2 separate regions of the Homo sapiens genome follow, and region 2 is linked to region 1. Evidence: promoter capture Hi-C in human tissues and cell types (Jung and others, 2019). All regions are on one chromosome and are shown on one strand. The core of a region is centred on a gene start or on the middle of the fragment in contact, and the rest is flanking DNA. Distances in the headings are between cores, read along the strand shown. Region 1 holds the start of ZMYND8 (zinc finger MYND-type containing 8). Region 2 overlaps PREX1 (phosphatidylinositol-3,4,5-trisphosphate dependent Rac exchange factor 1).

The links. Contacts are between HindIII fragments. The study calls those that stand out against the background at their distance.
Region 2: a contact is called between a fragment that was not itself captured here and the fragment with the promoter of ZMYND8 in region 1, in 1 of the 25 tissues and cell types used here (spleen).

Annotation. Positions count from the first base shown.
Region 1 is chr20:47,353,964-47,360,395 of GRCh38, reverse strand. It overlaps ZMYND8 (zinc finger MYND-type containing 8), which reads left to right and starts at 3,697. Exons shown (of 23, transcript NM_001281775.3): 1 at 3,697-3,739. The coding sequence starts at 3,726. LOC101927377 (a long non-coding RNA gene) reads right to left here. Exons shown (of 2, transcript NR_134501.1): 2 at 5,763-6,432. RefSeq lists enhancers at 2,052-2,657, 2,337-2,686, 3,437-3,731, 3,266-3,873, 3,717-3,886 and 5 more and a cis regulatory region at 1,377-1,590. The HindIII fragment of the contact is 5,862 bases long and covers 1-5,081 here.
Region 2 is chr20:48,738,914-48,745,524 of GRCh38, reverse strand. It overlaps PREX1 (phosphatidylinositol-3,4,5-trisphosphate dependent Rac exchange factor 1), which reads left to right. Exons shown (of 40, transcript NM_020820.4): 3 at 378-500. Among named protein-coding and RNA genes, the nearest start is that of PREX1, 86 kb to the left of the region's middle. RefSeq lists an enhancer at 4,824-4,933. The HindIII fragment of the contact is 5,679 bases long and covers 341-6,019 here.

The DNA.
Region 1 (6,432 bases), core at 2,448-4,947:
AAGCCAGGGTTTCCCAACCTTGGACATTTTGGATCAGATACTTCCTTGTTGTGGCGGGGCTGGTCTTGTGTACTTATAGGATGTTTTGCATCATCCTTGGCCTCTACCCACTGGATACCGGTAATACAACCTCCCTAACTGTGACAACCCACACGTCTCCAAGCATTGCCAAATGCCCCCTGAAGGGCAAATCCCCCCATGGTTGAACCACTGGTTTCAGGGAATATAAAAGCCTAATTTTAGAGATGGCAAAGTGTTCCCCCTTGACATCTTGCATCTTGCTGGAGGTTGGGAGGGAGAGGGTCGCTTCCTCTGGGCCTCAATCTGTAATGAGGGGCATTTGAATGAGTCTAATCTAAAAGTTTCCTTCAGCGCCATCATTCAATACTGAAAACCCACCTCAAAAGGGTGGGTCTTCAGGTTGCAGCATTGAGTTGTGATGATGCCACTGCACTCAAGCCTGGGCGACAGAGCGAGACACTGTATCAAAAAACAAAAAAGCAAAAAACTGGTCTACCTCCTAAAAGAAAACACAGATTATGCAGTTGCTGTTCGTAGGTTTCAGCCTCATTGTTTCTGCTGTGCTTGGTTCGGCTTTGCTTTTGCTTCTTTCTTTAGAGCCAGGAGAAGGTACAGAGTTTAGGGATGTGAAGTGCTAACGGGGTGGACATCTGATCTCTGGCACTTCCCAGCTGTGTGACCTTGGGCAGCTCACTTCACCTCTCTGGGCTTAGTTCCAGGTTTCTAACAATGCCACCTACTTCAGGAATCAGTCTATGTAAAGCACTAATTTAGAAGTAACTGCTGGGATACTCACTGCAGTGGGGCTTTAAGAGGAGCTGCTGAATGGATTTCTAGATTGAGACCTGCAACATTTGGTTTTATTTCCTGCTTATCAGCCACATTCCATGAAGCCCAGGACCAGCCCTTCGTAGGCCTGCCCCAGGCTTTCTTTTCAATCTGTGTTCCTCCCAGGATTCCATCTGCCACCATACTTTTGTGTCTGTCCCCAGCCGAATTGCTGTTTTCCAGATAACCTCAGACCTACCCGAATGCCAACAGCATTCCTCAAACAGAGCAGAGCTGCCAGAATAAGCCAGCAGCTTCCTGCTCTTTGCCCCAGAAAACATTTCAAGTGATCAAGTGATCAGAGAGAGGGAGGGAGGCGGGGAGGATGCTGTAGCTGCTTATGCAACAAGCTTTAATCCCAGGTTAAAATCCACCACGCACACCAGCGGCATATTTTATTTCCTCATTGGTTCGTGGACTTAGCTGCATGGGAGATCTGCCACCAACCCCACAGTCCTGTTTGTTCCCCTCAAAGCAGCACCCGCAGAAACAAACAGCATTCCATATGGGATGGCGGTGGAGGGCCGCTGCCCACACAGCTAGGAGGGTGAGCACGCACTGCTTCACTGTGGCCTCCACCTCTCGCCTCCTCCCATTTAGTCTCCCCATGCAGCTTTCTACCTCCAGGAAGAGCAGGCCCCTCCCTTTTGGTGAGGCCCAGGCCTGCTGTCCTGAGCCCTGGAGCTTTGTCAGGTTGGGTGGCCATGGAGCTGTCCCTCCCTGCAGCTTGGCCTCAGCAGCCTAAAACAGTAACAACAGCAACATCCTGTCCGTTTTTATAAAGCCTGGGTCCTGCCCTGCCGTACAGTGAGTTTCGATTCCCAGCTCGTTCCTGAGCCTGTTTGATATGAGATTCCCGGCCAGGAAGAATTTATGTACAAGCAGTGGGCATCTGTTGTCCATGTGGGGGTTGGGGGGGGGCAGGGAAAGCAAGCCATCAGCTCTTCGTTTTCTTTGTGGGAACCGTGTGGGACAAGAAAGCCCACAAGTCCTAATTTTAGGAGGAGAGGGGAGACTTTATTGCTCCGGAGTTATGCCTCCTGGCATATGGCTGCGTTAACTCTGGACGCTTTCTCCAGCCTCTAAAGAATGGTGTTTATTTAGCTTCTGTGGTTCCAGGTTGCTGTTTTAAAAAATCCTGTTAATTAAGCACCTTGTCATTTAAAATGCCGAAGAAGGAAAGAGAGCGAGAAAGCTGGGGACATTTTACGGTCCTTTTCTATCTCTGGGTACAGACCAACTGCGAAGGCAGCTTTAGGGAGGAGACCAGCAAAGACCTCCTAACGCAATTGAAGTGGGTAGAATTGTAAGCAGCTCTGAACAACCAGTTAATATTTTACTGGGGAGCGGTGCCAGAGATGGGGGGGTGGGGGGGCTGCCAAATGGAGGGCTGTGTGTGAAATCGCTGCTCCATCTGCCTTGGGGGACGAAAAGAAGCCGTTCTCTGTGCAAATAAATGGAAGCAAGAATCCTTAGGAAGCCCAGGGGATTTGTCTGCCCACCGAGGAGGGCCCAACTCCCCCAGGCACACACATACAGGGATGATTGTGGCAGGAAGGGCTGACCTACGGGGGTAGGCCTGACGCATAATGGGGGCTCTTGTTTCCGGGCTGAGCGTGCCATCTTTCTGTCTCCCTCTGGATTGAAATGGCTTCTCAGCCCGAGAGGCACTGCCTGTGCCCTGGATTCACAAGGTACACGCCTCCCTGGGAAGCAAAGGCTGAGAGACAGCGGCTCTCTCTCTCTCTTTCTGCATCTGCCGGGAGAGCTGCAGCTGGTATTTTTCCACAGGCCTTCGCTGCGATCTCAAGGCCTAGTTTTTCCCAGCCAGGCCCCGAGTCCGAGAGAGGGTTAACAGGCAGGAAGCCGAAGGCATCGCAGGCTAATACGGAAGTCAGATTTGTGTTTAACTGACAGGTTTAGCAGGTCTCGGCCGCGGGGGAGGGGCCGGGAGGGAAGGGAAGTTTGTAGATCCAGGCATGTGGCCTGCGAGGAGGGCTTTGGGTTTTTCTTAGGGTAAGGACCGAGAGGGGTCCCCCTTGGCATCGTGGCAGGGCGACAGGAACCCACGTTGATTTTGCCTGCAGGACTGGCTAAGCAGGGCGCGAGAGGCCCACGGCTCCCTGGCCTGCCTTGCAAGGAGGCATGGGGACAATGACTATGCAAACTTGACCACTCTGCTCCCCTCCTCCCCTCAGCAGCTACTCCTCGCTCCTCTGAGAAGCCAGGGCTGCTCTCTGCTGATTTTTCGGGGCTCCCCCGGGCTGCCTGCTTCCCCCAGCTTCTCAGAGGCCTGCCTCAAGCCCCTTTTTCTGGCCCCTTGGCTGTTTCCCCGGGACTCCCCACTCCCCAGCTTCCCCTTCCCCTTGGAGAGCCACCCTGCTGGACTGTTCTAGAAAAAGGCTGGCCTTCCTCCCTGGACAAGGGCCGTTTCTCTGGGGGCAGGTGAGGGTGAGCCGTTCCAGCCCACTCCAAGAAACTCCCTTCCCAGGGACCTCCGGGCCTCAGGCTTTCCTGGAGCAGGTCAGGCTGGCTGCCCTGGCTGGCCCGTGCCGGGAAATCTAGCCAGGGTGCAGGAGAAGTGCGTGTGGGGGCCCCTTTCCCAAGTTTTTCTTGCTGCAAAAGGCCTAGCTTAGCCTGTCTTTTTCTATGCACAGGATGGCTCTTGCTCACCCGAGCCTCACAAAGATAATCGCTCAGGAAGTGTTTCAGCCAATCCGGGGCGGCTTTACACTCCGATTTGCCGGGGCAGCCAATCGGGGATGAGCTTTTATTAGGCGGCCAGATCATCAGCCGAAGTGCCAAACCCTTTTTCTGTGAGAACTAGGAGCCTGTCCTCCATGTTTTATAAGTATTGACATTACACAGTGTTAACAATGCATCCACAGAGGTAAGCTCGACTTTTTAACCATCTTTTTTCCCCCTCCCTCTGAGACATCCGAATTGTGGGCGAGCAGTGTGATTTCTCTGTGGCTGGCCGTGCCACACTCACCCCCAGAGCACTTATGTTAACTTGGAACTGTTTAGAGAGAATTTTTTTGCTTTCTTGGGTCACATGGCTCAGTAGCCATTAGCCATAGCTTGATTTTGCAAACTGGCAAGGGCCTGGCACACCTTTCCTTCCACCAGGGCATGGTGTTTCTGGAAGAGTTTGAAGCTAGATCCTGGTATGCCAAAAAAGAAGCTTTTTTTTTTCCTTCTTTTTTTTTTTTTCTTTCCCTCTTCCCTCTCTCTTCCCCTCTCTCTCTCTCTGAGCAGTTCCCCCCCTCCCACCCCTGCACTATTGTCTTCTCTTTTGCCACATGCCCTGCTGGGGGAAGAAAATGGAAGGTAAGCAAACAGGCTCCTCTCCAAGGAGAGCTCATGGCAGACAGCAGAGCAGGCAAGTTTGCCTCTCCAAAGAGGTTCTGGGAAGGCTGGATAAGTTTTGACAAGAGAGGAGCGTGTTTGCAAAAGAATTGTGCCCTCAGCAGAGCAGTGCTAAGGAGAGTCTAGCTCCTGGGGCCTAGGTGGGTGGTGGTGTCTGTACACGGTCTTCTCTTATTCTACAGAGCTTCTGCACTTGAAACTACATTGTTCAGCCTGTTTTCCTGACTTAGGTTGCTACAGAGTGTTCTGCAAGCCAGCCTACAGCCAGCAAATGTTTCTGAAAGTGTTTTCTAGGCTTTGGAGGAAGTTTTTTGGAGTAGGGATGGGGACTGGGGGGTGGGGGGAGAGATCTTGGACAACATCCTGCAAAAAAAAAAAAAAAAAAAAATCTGCAAGGATTCTGAATCCCTTAGCTTTCTACTCTTGCATGATTTTCAAGGAACTAATGTTACCTTTTATCCTTGTTTTCATTTTCCTGTCCCTTTTATACATTGTATCCTCCTCTCTTCTCCTGTGTCATGGAGTGTAGAGGAAATAAAATCATGTCTGTGGCTCATGACAGCATTCCATATTCAGTTGTTGGGTTGTGTTGTTGTTGTTGTGTGTGTTTTTAATAATACCATGTAACTGTTTAAAAAAATTTCCTTTTTGATCAAGTCCCAAATCTGCCAGCCTGTTCTCTCTTCCTAACTGTGGAAAAATGAGACGGTTGCTTGAACATTTGTTGGGTAAGTAAAGCAATCCATTTCCTCTGTGACCATGTTTGAAGAGTTTTGCGAACATTTGGGGTCTGTTTGTAATAGTGGGTCTTGGCTACAGGAGTTGGGGGCTTCATTAGCAGGAACAAAATAAGGGCTTTTTAAAGAGTGTCTTGATTTTAGGTGACTGTTTGAATCCACTGTTTTTCCTGATAACCTGCAGCTAGGATTGAAGATTATACTTCCTGTTTACCCTGAGTCAGGGGAGAAATGTTCAGTTCATTGTGACTTGACTCTAGACCTTTAATGGGGTTTGTTTGGATATTCAAACTGTGAGTAGGTGATGTGCTTGTGAAATGTCATGAAACTGCTTGTTCTTAGAGGTGCAGAGCCCTAAAAACATTGGTGGTGTAGAAGCTGGTGGTGGTGGTGGTATGTGTGTGTTGGGGGGGTGGTGTCAGTGTGCTCATGTTTTAGGACTTATGTATAGTGCAAAATCTCATCTACCACCAGACTGGGTTTGATTCAGGACTCACTGACCAACACATTTTGGCCTTTTTTCAGGTCTCCTCCACACATCTGTATGCATGCTGGCCCCACATAAGATTTCTCACTTTTTACATTTCCCTTGACCACTTAAGGCTGCAGCTAGAAGTTAAGTGGGAAAAGTAGAGTCTTGTTTAGCAGTACCTTCAGAATTTCCCTAGAAGTTCAGTACATAAATTTTCAGCTTGGAGACCAATCCGACATGACCGTAAATGCAGGAAATATATTCAATTGCTGTGTTATGTCAACTTTATGGAGTCAGTAATCTTTTTTCTTTCAAATGAGTGTCCAGTAGCCCACTTTCTGACACCGAATTGGAAAAAGGCTCATTTAATCAGCAGAAACGTACCACATTCTAAGTTGAGAAAAGTCTGTGCAAGGCAGGCCAGCTTAGCTTCTTAGAGTAAAACTGCAGGCAGTTAATGATGTTATATACTTAAAACTGAACAGTGCCACTGCCCCAAACAAGTAAGTTCAGACACTCAGCTATTTTCTTTGTTCTTATCTCCTTGCTGTAAATGGAAATTACATATCGAGGTTCTTGTGGCCTCCCTAGAAGCAATATCTAATCATAAGACTCCTGGTTTGGTGCCTTCAACGTTTGCATAATACTGTGTTTGTTGGGCTGGAAGGGAACTTAAGGGCAAGGCATTTGTCCTCTAAAAGCTTGCATTAAAATGGCTCCCACAGGTTTGGAGAGCCAAGATCTGTTTTCAAATGTACAGCCCCCAGCAAGTTCCCAACCCTGGACCAAGCTAGCCACTTTTCCTCTGGTACTGTGACCCCTACCAAGCATGAGTCTGTAAAAAGTTAATTGCTTTCAAAGTAGCATTATTTTCCAGTTTCAGGAAAGGGGGAAAAAAATAAATGTCTGCATTGCAGCAGGACTAGGTAGGGACGGCAGTACTGGCTCCCAGAGCAGCCCAATGGGGTTCTTCTACTCTAGCTTTTAAACCAATAGACTTGGAGG
Region 2 (6,611 bases), core at 1,931-4,430, 1.4 Mb before region 1:
TGTCTGCATACTAAATGTGGAGCTGCTTGCAAGACTTTGACCTTGGGAATATTATTTTATCTGAGCCTTGGTTCTTCATCTGTAAATTGGGCATAACAATAGTTTCTATCTCACAGATTTACAGTGGGGATTAGATTCTATGAATGCGTATAAAGTTCTTAACACACGATTAGTCACTAATTCCGATTATAGTAAATAAATATTGGTAATATTTCTGTTATTACAAAGATTTCTATTAGTGGTAAACCAGTTCCGGTGTTTGAGAGTTCTTCTTTGACTACAATGTCACCCGCACCGAGGTTTGTATTTTTTCAGTGCTTGGCTTTGCTCTCCCTCTGAGCCTTAACGCTGTCCTCTGGCCTCTCTTTTCCTCACAGGTCCTGTTCTCGAACATCGAAGACATCCTGGAAGTTCATAAGGATTTCTTGGCCGCCTTGGAGTATTGTTTACACCCGGAGCCGCAGTCTCAGCATGAACTTGGGAATGTTTTCTTAAAATTCGTGAGTACCATGCCACTGCCCCTGGTGGACTCTAGTTTTTGAAAAGTGGGCTTCTCCCTGGGTCCCTGCCCCATCCGCCTTCACCAGCTTCCTCTGTAGGCCTGTCTGGGAGATGGGGTAGCAAGGTGGGCAGGTGGGCCCAGTCTGCATCCCTGGAACTATGGGAAGTAGGTCAGGCCCAGCAGGCTGTGGGCATTTTTAGTGACTCTCCTTTCCCTCAGCTCCACATAGAGGGTGGGCCCTCACTGAATGCATGTGTCCTGGAGTCCTGCGACCTCCTGGCCTGGCGGGGCCCCTCTGCCACAGTGACCATCAGAGGTAGCTAGTGGCCAAGAAGAGATGGACTTGGCATCAGACAGACCTGGGTTTGAGTCCCGGCTCAGGCACCCACTGGACAGTAAGGGTGTCTGATCCTGGGGTGCCCCGTTGGGCTGTTGGTCAGAGAGGCTGACGCTTGTTGCAATAGCCTCTCTCTTCCTGCAAGATTACTAACGCATTTGGAATTGTGGGTGGTAGGCTGGAAGAAGGAAGGCAACTGCTTTTCCATACCCTCTTTTTCTGTACTACCTGGGACCCCCCTCACAGACAGAAGAACCCAAGCTAGCCTCACGGGCACGAGATGTGAGCCAAACTCCTTTGCCTCTCTGAGCCTCTATTTCCTCCTGTAATTGCAAAGTAGGGACAATTCCGTATACCTCCTAAGGTTGATGGCCAGACTCAGAGGTAAAGCAATCGGGTAGAGAGTCTAGAGCAGAGCTTCTCAGCTGGGGTGATTCTGGCCCCCAGGGGACAATGGGCAATGTCCAGACACATTTTTGGTTGTCCTAGCTCTAGAGTGCTACTGGTTTCTAGTAAGTAGAGGCCAGGGATGCCACCAAACATCCTATAATGCACATGACAGCCCCGACAACAGAGAATCATCTGACCTCAAATGTCAGTGGTGCCAAGGTGGAGAAACTTTGGTGTATCAGCACTCGGCCACTGTTAACTCATCATCATCATCATCATCATCATCATCATCATCATCATCATCACTAACTCACTTCTCCAAGGGATCACATCTGAGTGGCTAGAGCCTAAGATGATGGAGCTGTGTGACTTTGCCCTCAGAGGGCAATGGGGGGCAAGTCTCATGTGCGATCAGGCGTGCAGACTACCCCAAGATGCAGTCATTCAGCCAAGGGCCAGCCACTCTCTACGTGAAAGTGAGGGCAAGGAGAGCTTCTGGCCAGGCTGCTGAGCCACTCATGAACTGTGGTCCTCTCAGCAAGTTGACTGATCTTGTCTGTGCCTCATTGTCCTTTTACCCATAAACGGGATAAATCCAGGACATTGTGAGGATTAAGCAAGATAATACAAGGAGCCTGCTCAGTGCAGCTCCTGGCACAGTAAGTGCTCAATAAATGTCGACGTTATCTTCCTATTCACATAGCGGACGCTCCTCCATCTTTGGAATTGGACAAATAAGAGCACAATGGGGCGCAGGTGGGCTGGGTGCTAGCGGAGGGCATTGAGCAGAGGAGGGAAGTGGTCCACAGGCCCTTTGGCTGCTGTGAGGGGGAGTAGCTGTGGAGGGAGAACTGGAAGCCGGGAGACATCTAAGAGGTTACCCCACCAAGTGAGATGACGGTGCCTCGGACCAGCATGGTAGCAGTGGAGATGGTGAGAAGGGGCAAGTGGCCACAGTGTGCAGTAAAGGTGTTTGAATAGGAAAATGAAAAGGATGGGAGGGACAGTCTTTCCTTTGGGTTCAGAGGAGACAGGAAGTGCTTTTTCTCTGGAGCCAACAGCCAACGTTCAAATCCCTGTTCTACTGCTCGCCAGCCCAGTGACCTTGGGCAAGTCCTTTCACCTCTCAGGGCCTCAGTCTCCAACTCTGTAAAGTGGGGGTAACGACAATTCCTGCTGCAGGGGGCTGTCATGAGGATGAATGACCTGGCTCAGCACCAAGCTAATGCCGCGTGTCAGCTGTGAGTGTTACTCCGGCCTGCTTCCTGGAGGGGGTGGGCTTGGGGTTGGCTGTGATGTCATGATCCGAGCTTGCTTAGGATTGCCTATACTTAGCAAAAGTGGGAGAAAGGGTCCTCAAGGTGCACTGTCCAGTTTGCCAAAAGCCCTGGCCCCCCTCATTCCTTTGGCTTCTCTGTCTGAGCCCCAGAGGCTGTGGGGAAGTGGGTTTAACTCGCTTGTCAGTGAGGAGCCCTGGACCCTGAGGACACAGCGGGGCTATTCTCACCTCTCTCTTTCTGCAGGATTCCTGACTTGCTCAGAGATGCAGCGGAGGGCTGGGGGGCTGGGGACGGGGAGTTCAGTGTGCATGAAGCAACCTCTTTTCCGTGTCCTCTCTTCTGCTACCTGGGACCCTCCTCATGTAGCCTCATCAAACTAGGCACCTGGTGAAGGCTGCACTTACCATCAGAGTCATGACGTGTGGAGGGTGGATGTTTAGGCCTTTGTGGGAAGTTGTTCTGTGCTGGGGCCTTCCTGGCATCCTCCCTGGGCCTGGGAGATCAAGCATTTTAGAGCCCAGCTGCTCGACTTTGCATCCTAGCTCTGCTACTTCCTTGCTCTGGGATCCTGGGAGAATGACCTTACCTCTCTGTGCCTCAGTTTTCTCATCTGTAAAGTGGGTATCACAAAACTCACCTTCTAGGGTGGTTGAGAGAATGAATGACGTTGGTAGAACCTGGCACATAATAAGTGCTCAGGAATTGTTTCTCACTTGGGTAATGTGCGCATCTGTTCACGTGATCCAGCGCTTTCTGGCACCTCCCAGGCTTCTCTGGAGTGTGACTTTGTGCAGGGTGCCCAGACCTGGGATCACTGAGCCCCATTCCAGGCGATCTATCATGAGCCCCCCTGCACCTCAGCAGGGCTCCCGTCCTTCCAGCCTCACAAAGCTGCTGTGATGCCCGGGCACAAGGATGAATGTCGGAGGCTTTGACAGAGATGAAGTATTTTGGAGATTGGTTCTCCCCTGAGCCAACAGAGAGACCTGCTGGAAACATCAATCAGATCTCTTCAACCCCTCTCCCAGCACCCTCCAAAGGTTCCTGCCTCATTGGAATAAAATCCCCACAGCCCGCCAGGCCCTGTTCATTCCTCGGAACTTGCTCCCCTGGCTCTAGCCACACGGATCTCCTCGCTGTTCCAGAACATGGCAAGCCCATTCTCACCCCAGGCCGCTTCCTCTGCTGGACCAGTTCCCTCAGACATCCCTGCGGCTCTCTCCCTTCTTGCCTTGAAAGCTTTTTGGAAATGCCATCTTCTCCGCAAAGGCCTCCATGCCCTCCTGTTTAAGTTGCTGCACTCCTGCCCTTCCGCGCCCCTCCCCTACTCTGTCATTCTCAACAGAACAGTCCGCATCACCCTTTGACACATCGGATCTTTTGCCCCTTTTTGCTTATTGTCTGTCTCTCCCTAGAATATAAACAACATGAGGACAGGGACTCTGTCATGTTCACTGCTCTGTCTCTGCATCAGAAATAGTTCAGCCCCTTAGCCGGGCATGGTAATGTGCACCTGTAGTTCTAGGTACTTGAGAGGCTGAGGTGGGAGGATTGCTTGAGCCCAAGAGGTTGAGGCTGCAGTGAGTTGAGATCATGCCGCTGCACTCCAGCCTGGGTGACAGGGTGAGACATTGTCTGAAAACAAACAAAACAAAACAAAAAATAAAATAAAAAAAAAATCGAGCCCCAAGCTCACTTGCCCTCTGGACATGCAAGCAAACTGAGAGAAAGGTTAAGCTCAAGGTCACGACTGTGCCAGCCGCAGAAGTGGGCTTTAGGCCATCCTAAGGGCTAAGCCAGTGTTCTTCAGTTCAGCTCACACGCTAAGTTTGTAATTTTTGCTATATCTGAGTATTCTTTGTATTATTATTTGTTTAATGCTTTAAAAAATTGATTCACTTATCGTTTGAACCCGGGAGGCAGAGGTTGCAGTGAGTCGAGATTGTGCCACTGCACACCAGCCCCTGCAACAGTGTGAGACTCCGTCTCAAAAAAAAAAAAAATTGATTCACTTAACAAAACTTCAGTGAACTTATTTAAAAAGAGAAATTTGCATCATCATTGAAAATAGAAAATGAGTGCTATAAATAGAAGGTAATTGTCAAAATAAATGCAGTAGAAACCAAACGGTATTACCGCATTCTATCTAGAAACTCTTAACTACTTGAGCCTTTCAGCCTGAGGCTGCTTACATCACACCAGCTAAGACCCTCCTTGAGCTAACTGGACCTATTGAAAAAGGAGCCAGCGTTCTCAGTGTGTGATACAGTGTTTTTTAATTTAAAATCATCTTTTTAATTAAAAATTAAAATTATCACGCCTCTTCCTGCCTGCTCACGGAGGATAGGTTGAGTCAGTCTGTCTCAGGAGTTTTAAAGGCCACACCTCTGTAGGTTGGGTTTCTGGAAGCTGGCGATTTGCACACAGGTGGGCCCTTGGAAGCAGCTAAAGGAGAGGTTGCAGAGGCTCCACCCCAGCCACTGATAGTCCCATCTGGAAGGAACTCTGGAACTAGGATAGCTCTTCAGATTATGCACAATTGCAGCAAGTGGGCAAGGCCTTTGCACCCTTGTTGCCCAGTGGGCTGTCCTCAGGAGTGGGTGTACCGCCTCAGACAGGTGGCCCTCTTAGGCTGAAGGCAGCTCTAGGAGAGGGCCTTAGCTGAGGGTCATTGTCAGCCAGCACTCCCAGCACCTGGGGTAAGGGGTGTCTCTGTCTCTGTGACAGGCATTTGAGGAGTGCACCATGGCATCCACTGCAGCCCCAAAGGAAAGAGGTGCTGGGTCCACTCTCCTTCCCAGGCTTGTTTACTCCATTTACTCCCTGCTTGGAAACATTTTCCCATGGCCATGGCAGCATCTGGGCTGGTGAGATGCTAATCGGGAACAGAGCTCTTGCAGACAGGCTCTCCAGGAGAGGAAGGGGCCCTGGCCCACAGTCCAGCCCGCTAGTGTCACCTAACTGATCAGATGGGGGAAGAGTCCCTCACCCCCTTTCCCCAAAACCCAACCACTAACTACTGAGTTTATCATAAACTAGCACCGAGTGGACATTTTCTTTGTGCTGGGTTCTGTTCTCTGTGCCTTACAGATATGCATTCATTAAAACTTCACAACACTCTTTAAAGGTGGTTACTATTATTGTACCCATTTTACAGATGAGGAAACCAAGGCCCAGAGAGATTAAGTTATAGGGCAAGCTTACAGAGCTAGGAAGCATCAGAGCCAGGATTTGAGCTGACACAGTCAGGCTGTAGAGTCTGTGTTTTTTACTCTTATGTGATGAGGTCTCCTGAAATACATAGTAAGCATCTCCTGTGTGCCAGGCTCTGCACTAGACCCTGGGGATGCTGTACTAAGTAAGACAGACTTGCTCCGTGCTGCCACGCGGCTCGTAGGTGGGAGAAACAGAGGGTAATTTAACAAATGAGGTCATTTCAGATGCCAGTGCAGACTGTGAAGAACATAAAATGCAGATGTGGTAAAGAGTGACTCTGCCTGAGGTTGCTTTCAATCGGGAGGTCAGGGCCAGGGCTGCTAGATTTAGCAAATGAAAACAAAGGACACCCAGGGAAATTGGAATTTCAGGTAAACATCAAATAATTTTTTAGTGGAAACATGTCTTATGGAATATTTGAGACATACTTATACTAAAAAAAATATGTGTCTGAAATGAGCATTCACCTGGGCATCCTGGGGTTTATTTTATATCTGGCAACCCAAGGGTGGGATGGCCTTTCTGAGGGGTTGGAATGGGATGATCTTGGGGAGGGTGGTCTGGACCAAGGTGAGAAAGGGCAGAAGCCCTGAGCTGGGAGCAAGCTTAGCTCATTTGAGAGAAGAAGGGAGACTGGCGTGGCCAGAGCAGAGTGAGTGATAGAGAGAGTTTGAGGGTGTCATAGTGGGGGCAGGGCAGATCCTGTAGGGCTTTGCGTGCCGAGGTGAGGACTGTAGATCTTATTCTGAGTCAGTGAAAGCCATTGCAGGTTTTAAGCACGGGAGTAGTGTGGTCTGATTTCTGTTTTAACCCCCCTCTCCCCACAGCTGTATGGATGGGTAAATAATTTGGGGAGACTGTTGAGAAACTGAGACCTGATTCTCAC